Linked DNA regions of Homo sapiens: all the other regions are linked to region 1. Evidence: promoter capture Hi-C in 16 types of primary human blood cells and fetal thymus (Javierre and others, 2016). All regions are on one chromosome and are shown on one strand. Each heading gives the region's core, a stretch centred on a gene start or on the middle of the fragment in contact. The rest is flanking DNA. Distances are from core to core; before and after follow the strand shown. Region 1 holds the start of C1orf220 (chromosome 1 putative open reading frame 220). Region 2 has its middle 20 kb from the start of MIR4424. Region 3 has its middle 3.5 kb from the start of MIR4424.

The links. Contacts are between HindIII fragments. The CHiCAGO score rates a contact against its expected background, and 5 or more counts as called.
Region 2: a fragment that was not itself captured here is called in contact with the fragment with the promoter of C1orf220 in region 1 in 3 of 17 cell types (total B cells, naive B cells and endothelial precursors); the score reaches 22.5 in total B cells.
Region 3: a fragment that was not itself captured here is called in contact with the fragment with the promoter of C1orf220 in region 1 in 2 of 17 cell types (total B cells and naive B cells); the score reaches 9.8 in total B cells.

Annotation. Positions count from the first base shown.
Region 1 is chr1:178,540,250-178,544,879 of GRCh38, reverse strand. C1orf220 (chromosome 1 putative open reading frame 220) reads right to left here and starts at 2,084. Exons shown (of 3, transcript NR_033186.1): 1 at 1,995-2,084. It overlaps LOC124904460 (a long non-coding RNA gene), which reads left to right and starts at 2,235. Exons shown (of 2, transcript XR_007066748.1): 1 at 2,235-2,846; 2 at 3,054-4,317. RefSeq lists silencers at 1,850-1,919, 1,950-2,279 and an enhancer at 2,330-2,389. The HindIII fragment of the contact is 17,585 bases long and covers 1-4,630 here.
Region 2 is chr1:178,695,493-178,700,122 of GRCh38, reverse strand. No RefSeq gene overlaps it. Among named protein-coding and RNA genes, the nearest start is that of MIR4424, 20 kb to the right of the region's middle. The HindIII fragment of the contact is 1,154 bases long and covers 1,443-2,596 here.
Region 3 is chr1:178,671,944-178,676,573 of GRCh38, reverse strand. No RefSeq gene overlaps it. Among named protein-coding and RNA genes, the nearest start is that of MIR4424, 3.5 kb to the left of the region's middle. The HindIII fragment of the contact is 9,920 bases long and covers 1-4,630 here.

The DNA.
Region 1 (4,630 bases), core at 835-3,334:
ATTTGCTGAGAAGATAAAGAGACTACTTTCCATTTCTCACTTCTCTCTCAAAGCGCAAAAACAACGGGCCTGTCTGGCCTAGTCACTGCTTTCTGTCTCTGAAGTGTTCCAGGCGCCAGAACCAGCCTTCCTCCTTATTAACGTTCCATGATGATTCCTTCCAGGTGCTGGGGATCCAGCCCGTGGGGTTATTAGAGGGCAGACACCAACAGGGAAGGTGTTGTTGACTCACCCTCACAAATATCATTCCTTACATTGTCAGGGCAATTACAAAACACGACTTTAAAAATACTATAATAAAATATCCAACTGAAGACTTTCAGTATAATTAATCCGCCAACCTTATATTTTGAGAAGGTTGAGAGCCGTGAGGGAAAATAAACCCTAGAGAAATACATTGTTTTTAAGTTCTTTCAATAAAGACATGTAGGCATTTTCTAATGTTTTTCCCAAAAAGAAAGAACATCTACTCCTCTAATTCCACAAGAGATATAAAGAATTAAAGAAATTGTGATTAACAGCCCTGTGTCTGGAGCTCATGAAGCTCAGAGGATTGGGAATGGAAGTGGCAGGTTTAGGCTTGAATCAGAACTTCTGGATTTAGGAAAACAAAACAGGCCAGGCGCGGTGGCTCACACCTGTAATCCCAGCACTCTGGGAGGCCAAGGCGGGCAGATCAGGAGCTTGAGACCAGCCTGCCCAACGTGAGAAACCCTGTCTCTACTAAGAATAAAAAATTTAGCCAGGCATGGTGGTGGCACGCCTGTTAATCCCCGCTACTTGGGAGATTGAGGCAGGAGAATCGCTTGAACCTGGGAAGCAGAGGTTGCAGTGAGTCGAGATGGCGCCACTGCACTCCAGCCTGGGCCACAGAGCGAGACTCCGTCTCAAACAAACAAACGACAACAACAAAATGCAAACTCTGGCCAGGCGCGGTGGCTCATGCCTGTAATCCCAGCACGTTGGGAGGCCAAGGTGGGCGTATCACTTGAGGTCAGGAGTTCAAGACCAGCCTGGCGAACATGGTGAAACCCCATCTCTACTAAAAATACAAAAATTAGCCAGGTGTGGTGTCATGCACCTGTAGTCCCAGCTACTCAGAAGGCTGAGGCAGGATAATCGCTTGAACCTGGAAGACAGGTTGCGGTGAGCACAGATCGCGCCACTGCACCCCAACCTGAGCGACAGAACAAGACTTCATAAAAAAAAAAAAAACCCCACGCAGATTGCAGATTCCTGGGCCCCATCTTCGCCTTTCTGAATTGCAGCCTTTCACCCTTTAAGAATGAGAGGGTGAAATCTGCACGTCATACAAATAGCCCAGGGGCTATTAATCTGATGTTGCTCCCCAGCTCCCTCCAACACCGTCAGAGGGTGCACGGATTAGGCCTCTGCTGCGTGCAGAGAAGCATCCTAGGTGCTGCGTGGCTGTGCCAAAGCAGCAGAAACCGGTGGTGTGCCTTAAGATGCATGCTCCAAAGCTGTCCACAAGGCCTCTGGTACAGGCTTCCAGGTCTACGTCTCGGCTTCCCCGACAGTGTCCATGCGACACTGTCACCAGTTTCTCCTCTCACAAGCAGAAAATCAAATTCGGATTGGGCAAATGATTCCCTGCCCGGGTGTGGAATAAGGGTCAAGTCCTAAGTATGGAGAGAGAGCGCCGGCTCCCGCCAGGATATGCGAAGCTCTGGAGGGGAGGCCAAGCCACCAGGCACCCGGCGGGAGAAGAGGAGGCTGGAGAGCGCCGCCCAGTGCCTGCAGGCCGGGCGCTCCACGCCTCCCCTCCCTCCTGCACACCCCATTCCCCTCCGGTTGCCCCGCCTGGGAAGCCCCCTCCCCACACCTCCCGGCCCAGCATCTGCACGAGAGCCGCGAGCCCTGGCCCAGAGCTCTGGGTGGGCCTCTCACCCCAGACGGCGGCCGCAGCCCGTCCCTGATCACCGGCCGCCTGAGCCCTCCGTTCGCTCGGCGCGAGCGCCGCCACCCGTCCTTACCCCCATCCAGTCCGAGGCCAGCCCCGTAGGCTCCGAGCCTGCTCCGTGAAAAGCCTTTTCCCCAGGAGGAGAGTTACTGTAAAGCAAGAGGAAGCCGAGAAGAGGCGGTGGCTGCAGCGCGCGGGGCCCGGCGGGGGCGCGGGGGCGTCGGGGTACTGACTGGGCAGCGCGGTTTCCCCTCATCCCGGGACACGGTGCGGCGCTAGCGCCACCCAGCGGGCGCGGTGGGAATTGCGCTCCCTTCCTGCGCTGGGGCTCTGGACACACAGGCGACCAAGAATGACGCCTGCAGCCGGATAAACGCTCGGGGCAAGGCCGCTATCATCCCTCTGCCGGGAGTGAGTCAAGTCTCAGCAAAAGAAGAAGCCACTTTGGCCAAAATTCCAAGAGTGCTGATGAAGACGGTGACATCTGACATTTCAATGGCACTTTCCATTTCCCCCGGGGTGCGCATTCCGGGCCAGTGGAGCGCTGCGTCGCCTGTGCAGGACCTGGAGGTCTGCAGGACTGTGACCAGTCGGAGTCTCGGAGTCGTGGGTTAAACATTAGTCGGGAGCACTCGTTCATTCCCTGAGCTCCCCTTGCCCTTCACCCTTCGGTCCCGGAAGCCGGAAGGGAGACTGCCCCGCCCCTTGCCTGCCGCCCAGTGGCTCTCCCGGGGCCCTCTTGGCCCCTCTCTCCCAGCCCTCCATACAGTGAAGGGTTGTTTCCGCTGGTGACTTCCACCTGTGGGAGCAGAGAAAGGAAGCGGGGCAGAGGAGAAGGGGAAGGTGTCAGGCGATTCCCCTCCTTGCGCTGCAAGCCGGGTGGGAATAGAACACCTGCAGCCCTCCCCGGCGCCCTGCGAATGAGGTGGGAGTGGGAACGCCATCAGGGCAGAGCCCCTCCAGCTGGCTGGGGTCTGCACCTCCTCGCCAGCCCGGCCACCTCAAAACGGTGCTTGCCTCCCTGCGGGGGTGTAGAAGCCTCTTGGAGCAGCACTTGTAGAAAATCAAGTCCCTGGAAAGAAGCAAAATTAATCCGTTTGTTTCTCTATTTATTTTTGCTTCCCCACACCAGGTATTCACTTCATCCAAGGCTGCCCAATGTCACCTTCCACCCAGAGGAATCTCCCCTCTCCACCCCAGGCCAACAGCCTCTGCCTTCAGCTGTGGCCTCCACTCTGGCATTACTCTGGGCAGAGGGCTCAGGAGGGCTCAAGGAGGACCAGTGACATTCAGAGTGGCCAGAGTAAAGGGAGGGAGGGGGAGTGGTGGGAGAGGCGTGCAGAAGGCACAGGTGAGGTGGCGGAGGGGGGCAGGTGGTGGGGGGAGCGGGCTGGGGTGGGATGGGCCTGTCAGCATAGCAAGGGCTGTGATGGGCTTGAGTCTGACAGGGGGCAATGACCTGACCTACGGTTTTGTAAGATCACTCTGGCTGCCACCTGGAGAGCTGGTGTGGGGATGATGGCCATGGTAGACACAAGGGGAGCAGTTAGGAGACCACCACAAGTGACCATGCGGCCCAGGCGAGTAGGGTAGCAACAGAGATGGGGAGAGGAGGTCAGATTTGTGATCTGTATCTGAAGGTGGAATGGACAGGAATTGCTGATGAGCTTGGGTGTGGTGCATGAGGGAAAGAGAGAAATAAGCATCATTCTTAGGATTTGTCCTGAGCAACTGGAAGAAAAAGAATGACAGTGGCTAATACGGTTAGCCAGGCGCTCCTCTAAACCCTTCACATAGTTTAACCTGTCTAGATTTCATAACACTCCTATGAATTAGGAATTAGTTCTTCCCACATTTTACAGAAGAGGCAATCGAGGCCCAGAGAGTTGAATCAGTTTGCATAAAGTCCCACCATTAGCAAATGGAAAAGCTGGAATTTGGACCCAGCACTTCACCACTGCACACTTCCCCGGCTTTACAGAAAGAGAAATGCCGTGAACTGAGCTAGATGAGCCCGGGGGAGGAATGGGGTTTTTCCGTGGGGGTGTGAATCAAGAGTTCTAGTTGGAATGAATTCAGGCTGAGGTGCCTTTTAAACATCCAAGTAGAGATATTTAGCTCAGCAGATGGATGTATGACTCAGGCCCTGGGTGGCAAGGAGGAGCATCTGGGGCTGGCGTGTTAAGCATGGAGAGGAGACAGGAGAAGAGGGCAGAAGGCTGGGAAGTGGGATTAAATGCTGCATGTGAACGGATGAGGACAGAAATGGATACTTTAGAGCATCCTGTCAAGCCTTGGGGTGTCGGGTGATGAGTGTGTTTAGGAAATATTATTCTAGAGCAGTGCTTGTTTTTGTTTGAGGATTCAATAAAGGCTGTCACCTTGTTCCAGAAAAAGTACATGAACACACACGCAACATTTTGCATACAATTTCAGGGTGTCCGTGGGTCCCCAGAGGACATGCATGGGCCATTCTATTTCTATCAAACCTTACTTCATCCACCAGCCACAATCAAATTTCACTGTATCTCTCAAGTCCTGACCAGACCTCTGATGCAGTCACCCCACCCTCTCTGTCTGCATGAGATAGGAGCTGCACTCCTCTGAATCGAGACGGTTTTGAATTGAGACGGTTTTGAATGTCTATGTAGAATGCAGCTCGCCCTGCAGGTATTGCCTGTGTACATGTCTCATTTGGAAATGGTTCCC
Region 2 (4,630 bases), core at 770-3,269, 160 kb before region 1:
ATAACTTAAAACTTCCTCAAGAAGATACAAGAAAACTAAGTCTACAATTTTAAAAAATAAATACTTAGAAATCTTCCAACTAAACCAAACCAAAGCAAACATGCCATCACCACTACCTCCACCAGCTTTGCTGCCATTTCTACCATACATTCAAGGAACACATCATTTCAATATTTAAAAACTTATTCTAGGCTTGGCATGGTGGCTCACACCTGTAATACCAGCACTTTGGGAGGCCAAGGTGGGCGGATCACAAGGTCAGGAGTTGGAGACCAGTCTGGCCAATGTGGTGAAACTCCGTCTGTACTAAAAAATGCAAAAATTAGCTGGGCATGGTGACGCATGCCTGTAATCCCAGCTACTTGTGAGGCCGAGGCAGGAGAATTGCTGGAACCCAGGAGGTGGAGGTTGCAGTGAGCCAACATCATGCCAATGCACTCCAGCTTGGGCGACAGAGCGAGACTCCTTTAAAACAAAAACAAAAACAAAACTTATTCTAGGTTACAGCAAAGGAGAGAATAATTTATGATGTTTGGCTAACATAACCTTGGAATCAAAACTAGTAAGGACAGAACAAGAAACAAAAAGCTCAGTCTCAATTATGAACACAGTGGCAAAAATATAATACTAAACAAATTATTCATAACTGACTCCAGCAGGTTGAATTTATCCCTGAAATATAAGATACCTTAACATTAGAAAATTGATTAATATAATTCACCACATCAACAGAAAAAATGAGAATAATCTCATGATTATTCTAAAAATAAAGAAAAAGATTTGGATAAAATTCAATGTTCATCCATGATCATAATTTCAGCAAGTCAAGAAAAGACAGGCTATGTTATCATTTAGAGAAACATGTGAAGTATTTTATTTCTCCTCACATCAAGAGGTTCACTCTATTTCTGTTCCCCTTGAAAGTGAGCTTTCCTAGTGATTTGCTTTGACCAACAGAATACAATGGAAGTTACCTGTGTGATTTCTGAGTCTAGGCTTTGAGAGTTCTGTGGCTTCAATTCTACTTAGAAGCCCTAAACTGGCCAGGTGCAGTGGCTCACGCCTGTAATCCCAACACTTTGGGAGGCCAAGGCAGGTGGATCACTTGAGGTCAGAAGTTCGAGACCAGCCTGGCCAACATGGTGAAACTCCATCTCTACTAAAAAATACAAAAATTAGCCAGGTGTGGTGGTGGGCACCTGTAATCCCAGCTGCTCGGGAGGCTGAGGCAGGAGCATCGCTTGAACTTGGGAGGTGGAGGCTGCAGTGAGCCAAAATCATGCCATTGCATTCCAGCCTGGGTGACAGAGCAAGACCTCACCTCAAAAAAAAAAAAAAAAAAAAAGCATAAAAAATAAAGGTCATGACATCCTCATCTCAGACTCCTAGCCTGCAGAACTGTGAGGAATAAATGTCTATTGTTTAAGCCAAAAAAAAAAGCTTACAAATAAATGTAACAAGAGAAGTGTGTAATATATATCAAAAATTGTCTTTAAGTTTATTGAAATAATTAAAGATGGCCTATAAAAATGGAAAGACATACTATTTTATGTTTTAGAAGTCCCAATTTCATAAGCATGTAAGTTCTACCCAAATTATTCTAAAAATTCAATGTAATTTCAATCAAAATGACAACACAGGGTTTTTTTTTTTTTGTTTTGGAATTTAATAAGCTAATTTAAAAATATATATACAGGAACTAGTGGCCAAGAATAGTCTGAAGAAAAACATAGTTGGAGGTAGGGCAGGGTAACTGCCTTATAAGATAGCAAGACTTATTATGAAGCCGAAGTAATTAGGAGTGTGGTGTTAGTTTGGGAATAGAAAAATTGGCCAATAAAATAGAATAAAGAACCTATAAACAGATCCACATAGATGTGAAAAACTGAATTATGTCAGCACTGTCAGTGCAGGTCATGGGAAATCAATAAGTGGTACTGGGACAATTGTTTACCCATAAGGGAATAATTAATTTGGACCTCTACCTCATACCGTACCCCACCCCCCTAATCAATTCCAGGTGGATTATATACTTAAAAGTAAAAGGCAAAACTATACAACTTATAGAAAATAATATAGGATAGGCTAGGCGCAGTGGCTCACACCTTTAATCCCATCACTTTGGGAGGCTGAGGTGGATGGATCACTTGAGGTCGGGAGTTCAAAACCAGCCTGGCTAACATGGCGAAAAGTCATCTCTACTTAAAATACAAAAATCAGCCGGGAGTGGTGGCGAACGCCTGTAATCCCAGCTACTCGGGAGGCTGAGACAGGAGAATCGCTTGAACCCAGGAGACGGAGGTTGCAGGGAGCCGAGATCATGCCATTGCACTCCAGCCTGGGTGACAGAGTGAGACTCTGTCTCAAAAAATAAATAAATACATAAATACGTAATGTCTTCACAATCTCAGTGTAGGGAAGAATTTCTTGAACCAGACTTTAAAATCACAAACTCAAAAGAAAAAATTAATATTTTTAATTATATATATATTTGAAACCCTGGTCATTAAAGACGAGCCACAAACTTGGAGAACAAATCTGTAAAACATAACAGCAAATAATTTATAATCAGAATGTAAACAACTCTTACAAAGCTTGATATAAAAAAGGGAAAAACATTAGAATAGGAACTTCACAGAAGGAACCTGAATGCTCAGTAAAAACATGAAAAGATGCTTAACTTTATTAGTAATCAGGAAGATGAAAGTTAAGATTACAATGTGACACTGCTATGAAACCAGTTTGACTAAAACTAAAAACATAATAATACCAAGTGTTGACAAGTATATTGAGCAACAGAAAGAAACTCTCATAAACAACCAATAAGCATGCAAATTGGGACAATAATTTTAGAAAACTATTAGTGTTATCTAATAAGGTTGAAGAGGCATGTATCTTATAACCTAGCAATTCCACTGCTAGATAAATATTAATGCCTTAGAGAAACTTACACATGTGTACTAGGAGACACACACAAGAAAGATCAGAGTGGTATGATTTGCAAAAGCCAAAACCAAGAAACAACCTAAGTATTTATCAATAGTAAAATGGATAAATCAACAGTGGTATATTTCATACAACAAAATACCATACAGTGGTGAAAATCAATGAATTACAAATATATGCATGAATCTGAGGAATATAATTTTGGTAAAAGAGCAAGTCACAGATGAATACCCACTGCATGATCTCATTTGTAGAAAGTTCAAATACATGCAAAAGTAAACAATGTAGTGTTTAGGGATAAAAACTATAAAGGAAAGTAAAGGAATGTTATTTACAAAATTTAGGACAGTCCTTGTCTCTGTGGGAGAAAGGAAGAGGAAGTATAGGAAGGGGTTCACAGGTTAAATTTGATTTTTTAAACTTGAAGGTTGAAGGTTAGGTGAAGGATAACTCTATCTTATCTGTCAATCTATCTATCATTTTTGTTTTTTGAGATGGAGTCTGGCTCTGTCGCCCAGGCTGGAGTGCAGTGGCTCACAATCTCAGCTCACTGCAACCTCCGCCTCCTGGATTCAAGCGATTCTCCTGCCTCAGCCTCCCAAGTAGCCGGGATTACAGGCATGCGTCACCATGCCCGGCTAATTTTTGTATTTTTAGTGAAGACAGGGTTTCACCATGTTGGCCAGGCTTGTCTTGAATTCCTGACCTTAGGTGATCCGTCTGCCTTGCCTTCCAAAGTGTTAATATTACAGCCGTGAGCCACTGCGCCCAGCCCAATCTACCAATCTATCTATCTTATCTATCTACTCTATCTATCTAATCTATCTATCTATCTATCTATCATCTATCATCTATCTATCATCTATCTATCTATCTATCATCTATCTATCATCTATCTATCATCTATCTATCATCTATCATCTATCTATCTACCTATCTATCTATCTATCATCTATCTATCTATCATCTATCTATCTATCTATCATCTATCTATCTATCATCTATCTATCTATCATCTATCTATCTATCTATCATCTATCTATCTATCTATCTACCTATCTATCTATCTATCATCTATCTATCTATCTATCTATCATCTATCTATCATCTATCTATCATCTATCTATCTATCTATCATCTATCTATCTATCATCTATCTATCTATCATCTATCTATCTATCTATCATCTATCTATCTATCTATCTATCTATCTATCTATCTATCATCTATCTATCATCTATCTATCTATCTATCTATCATCTATCTATCTATCTATCATCTATCTATCTATCTATCTATCTATCATCTATCTATCTATCATCTATCTATCTATCTATCTATCTATCTATCTATCTATCTATCATCTATCTATCTATCTATCATCTATCTATCTATCATCTATCTATCTATCATCTATCTATCTATCATCTATCTATCATCTATCTATCTATCTATCATCTATCATCTATCTATCTATCTATCATCTATCTATCTATCATCTATCTATCTATCTATCATCTATCTATCATCTATCTATCTATCTATCATCTATCTATCTATCTATCTATCTATCTATCATCTATCTATCTATCTATCTATCTATCTATCTATCTATCATCTATCTATCAACTATCTATCTATCATCTATCTATCTATCTATCTATCTATCTATCTATCTATCTAT
Region 3 (4,630 bases), core at 1,465-3,964, 130 kb before region 1:
TTTTTAATTTAACATTTTTTTTTGAGACAGAGTCTCACTCTGTCACCCGGGCTGGAGGGCCATTGTGCAATCTCAGCTCACTGCAACCTCTGCCTCCCGGGTTTAAGTGATTCTTGTGCCTCAACCTCCCAAGTAGCTGGGACTTCAGGCATACATCACCTTGCCCAGCCAATTTTTGTTTTGTTTTGCTTTTTGAGACAGAGTCTTGCTCTGCCACCCAGGCTGGAATGTAGTGATGCAATCTCGGCTCACTGCAGTCTCCGCCTCCTGGGCTCAAGCTATTCTCATGCTTCAGCCTCCCAAGTAGCTGGGATTACAGATGTGCACCACCACACCCAGCTAACTTTTCTAATTTTAGTAGAGACATGGTTTCACCATATTGGCCAGGCTAGTCTCAAACTCCTGACTTCAGGTGATCCACCCACCTCGGCCTCCCAAAGTGCTGGGATTACAGGTGGGAGTCACCGCACCTGGCCCAATTTTTGTATTTTCAGTAAAGACCGGGTTTCACTATGTTGGCCAGGCTGGTCTAAACTCTTGGCCTCAAGTGATCTGCCCACCTTGGCATCCCCAAGTGAGCCACTGTGCCTGGCCTCAGCCTGCAAAAATTTTATTGAGAATTTTTCCATCTGTGTTCAGTATAAGCCTGTAAGTTTCTTTTCTTTTAGTGTTCTTATCTAACTTTGATGCAAGGGTAATACTGGCCTTGTAAAAAGAGTTTGGAAATGTTCCTCCCTCTTGATTTTTTTTTTTAGAAAAGTTTTAGAAGAATTGGTGTTTATTCTTCTCTGTTTGGTGGAATCCACCTAATCTTTTGTATTTTTGTGGTATCAGTTGTAACTATTCTTTTGTCATTTCTGATTGTAATTTTTTGAGTCATCTTTCTTTTTTTCTTGGTTAGTTTACTAAAGGTTTGTCAATTTTGTTTATCTTTTTAAAAAATCAACTCTTAGTTTCTTTGATCTTTTAAATTGTCTTTCTGTTCTCTATTTCATTTACTTCTGCTCTAATTTTTGTTATTTTTCTCCCTTCTGCTAACTTTGGGCTTAGTTTGTCTTTTTTTTTTTTTGAGACAGAGTCTCACTCTGTTGCACAGGCTAGAGTAAAGTCGCACAGTCTCAGCTCACTGCAGCCTCTGCCTCCTGGCTTCAAGGAATTCTCCTGCCTCAGCCTCCTGAGGGTGCCTGCCACCAGGCCTGGCTAATTTTTGTATTTTTAGTAGGGATGGGGTTTCACCATGTTGGCCATGAACTCCTGACCTCAAGTGATCTGCCCACCTCGACCTCCCAAACTGCTGGGGTTACAGGCATGAGCCACTGCACCTGGCTGTGAGATCTTTCTTTTTAAAATTTAGGTATTTATCTCTATAAATTCCTCTGTTAGAACTGCTTTTGTTGCATCCCATGTTTGGTATGTTATGTTTCTATTTCTGTTGGTTTGAAGACAGTTTTTTAAATCTTCTTTGACCCACTGGTTGTTCAAGAGCATGTTGTTTAATTTCTATTAATACTATTTGTGAATTTTCCAATTTTCCTTGTTATTAATTTATAGTTCTATATTATTGATTTCAGGAAAGATACTTGATGTGATTTCAATCTTCTTTAATTTGTTAAGACTTGTGCTATGGCCTAATATATGATCTATCCTAGAGAATATTCCATTGCTCTTGAGAAAAATGTGAAATCTGCTGCTGTTGAGTGGAATGTTCCATGTGTGTCTGTTAGGTCCATTTGGTTTATAGCATTATTCAAGTCTACTGTTTCCTTATTGATTTTTTGTCTGAATGATCTATCCATTGTTGAAAGTGGCATATGGCCAGGCATGGTGGCTCATGCCTGTAATCCCAGCACTTTGAGAGGCCGAGGCAAGCAGATCACCTGAGGTCAGGAATTTGAGACCAGCCTGGCCAACATGGTGAAACCCTGTCTCTACTAAAAATACCAAAATTAGCTGGGCATGGTGGCACAATTCTGTAATCCCAGCTACTTGGGAGGCTGAGGCATGAGAATTGCTTGAATTCGGGAGGCCGAGGTTACAGTGAGCTGAGATCACACCACTGCACTCCAGCCTGGGTGACAGAGCAAGACTCTGTCTCAAAATAAAAAATTAAAAAAAAAAAACAAAAAACAGTGGCATACTGAATTCTCCTATTATTGTATTGCTATCTATTTCTCTCTTTAGTCTTGTTAATATTTCCTTTATGTGTTTAGGTTCTCTGACATTGGGTGCATATATATTTATAATTTTTATATTCTCTTGATGAATTGACTCCTTTATCATTGTTTAATGACCTTCTTGGTTTCTTGTGACAGATTTTGACTGAAAGTCTATTTTGGCTGATATAAGTATAGCCACTTCTGCTCTCTTTTGGTTACTATTTGCAAAGGATATATTTTCCCATCCATTCACTTTTAGCCTATGTAGGCTAAAGTGAGTCTATTGTAGTCAGTATATTATTGGTCTTGTTTTATTTTTTAATTTTTTTTTTTATTTTTTGAGATGGAGTTTTGCTCTTGTTGCCCAGGCTGGAGTACAATGGCATGATCTCGGCTCACTGCAACCTCCGCTTCCCGGGTTCAAGCCATTCTCCTGCCTCAGTCTCCTGAGTAGCTGGGATTACAGGCATGTGCCACCACGCCCAGCTAATTTTGTATTTTTAGTAGAGATGGGGTTTCTCCATGTTGGTCAGGCTGGTCTCAAACTCCTGACATCAGGTGATCCGCCTGCCTTGGCCTACCAAAGTGCTGGGATTACAGCCATGAGCCATCATACCTGGCCTCGTTTTATTTTTAAAATCTATTCAACCACTCTGTGTCTTTTGATTGGAGAATTTAAACCTTTATATTTAAAGTAATTCTTGATAGGTAAAGACTTACTATTGCCATTTGTTAATTGTTTTCTGACAGCTTTGTAATTCCTTTGTTCTTTTCTTTCTCTCTTATTGTCTTTCTTTGTGATTTAATTTTTTGGTAGTGCTATGCTTTGATTATGTACCCTTTTATCCATTATATATCTGCTAGATTTTTTTTTCTTTTTGGTTGCCATGAGGATTACATAAAATATTTTATAGTTATAATGGTCTATTTTAACCTGATAACAAATTAACTTCAATTACATACAAATACTTTACATTTTTACTTCTCTTCCACCTTGCATTTTATGCTACTGATGTCACACTTAACATCATTTTATTGCGTCTATTAACAAATTATTGTAGCTATAGTTATTTTAAACATTTTTGTCTTTTTTTTTTTTTTTTCTGAGTCAGAGTTTCACTCTTGTTGCCCAGGCTGGAGTGTAATGGTGCAATCTTGGCTCACTACAACCTCTGCCTCCCAAGTTCAAGTGATTCTCATGCCCTGGCCTCCTGAGTAGCTGGGATTACAGGCGTGTGCTGCCACCCCTGGCTAATTTTTTGTATTTTTAGTAGAGATGAGGTTTCACCATGTTGGCCATGCTAGTCTTGAACTCCTGACCTCAGGTGATCTGCCTGCCTCGGCCTCCCAAAATGCTGAGATTACAGGCGTGAGCCACCGTACCTGGCCATATTTTTGTTTTTTAACTTTTATACTAGAAGTAAAAATGATTTACCTACTGCTATTATAGTATTAGAGCATTCTGAACTTGACTATGTATTTACCTTTACCAGTGACTTTTGTGCTTTCATATATTTTTATGTTGCTACTTAGCATCCTTTTGTTTCAACTTGCAGAACTCCCTTTAGCATTTTTTGTAAGGCAGTTTTAGTGGTGAGCTTTGTTACATTTTGTCTGGGAATGTCTTTATCTCTTCTTTATTTCTGAAGGATGGCTTTTCTGGCTTTAGTATTTTGGTTGGCATGCTTTTTTTTTTTTAATTTTGTTTTTGTTTTTTAAGCACTTTGAATATATCTGCTGAGAAATCTCTGATAGCCTAATTGATTTCCCTTGTATGTGAAGAGTTTCTCTTGCTGCTTTCAAAATTTTCTCTGTGTTTGATTTTTGATGATTTGACCATATGTCTTGGAATAGTCTTCTTTGGATTGATCTTGGGAATTTTGAGATTTTATGAGTCTTGATGTCCACTTCCCTCCCAAGATTTGGGAACTTTTCAGCCACTATTGTTTTAAATAAGATTTCTACCTCTTTCTCTTTTTCTCTTCTTCTGGGACTTCCATAATGCACACATTTATTCAATGGTGTCCCATGGGTCTTGTATTCTTTTGTCACTTCTTAAATTCTTTTTTCCTTTTCATTCCTCTAATTGGCTCTGGTCCCATGTGTCTCCTCAAGGGTCTACAGTTGGATCCTCAGATAAAGGGCCTGTTACCAGGTGAATGAATGGGTGTGGCTCCCTCCAGGTCTCTGGTAGGACTCCTACTAGGTCACTGGATGGGTCCCTGGACAGGCGGTGATGACTCCAAATGTTAGCTGAGAGGGGCTGGAACTGAGTCACATGGCTGTTTCAGGATCCACAGCTGTGATGGAGGTCTAACTGGGGACTTGACAAGAGAAAGTCTTTATCTGCTTAAACCAGTGTGTAAAGACTGGCAGAAGTGACTGCACCTTCAAATGCACAGACATGAATGCAAGGCTACATGAATCATGAAGAAACAGGCAAACATGACACCATCAAAGGAAACTAATAAAGA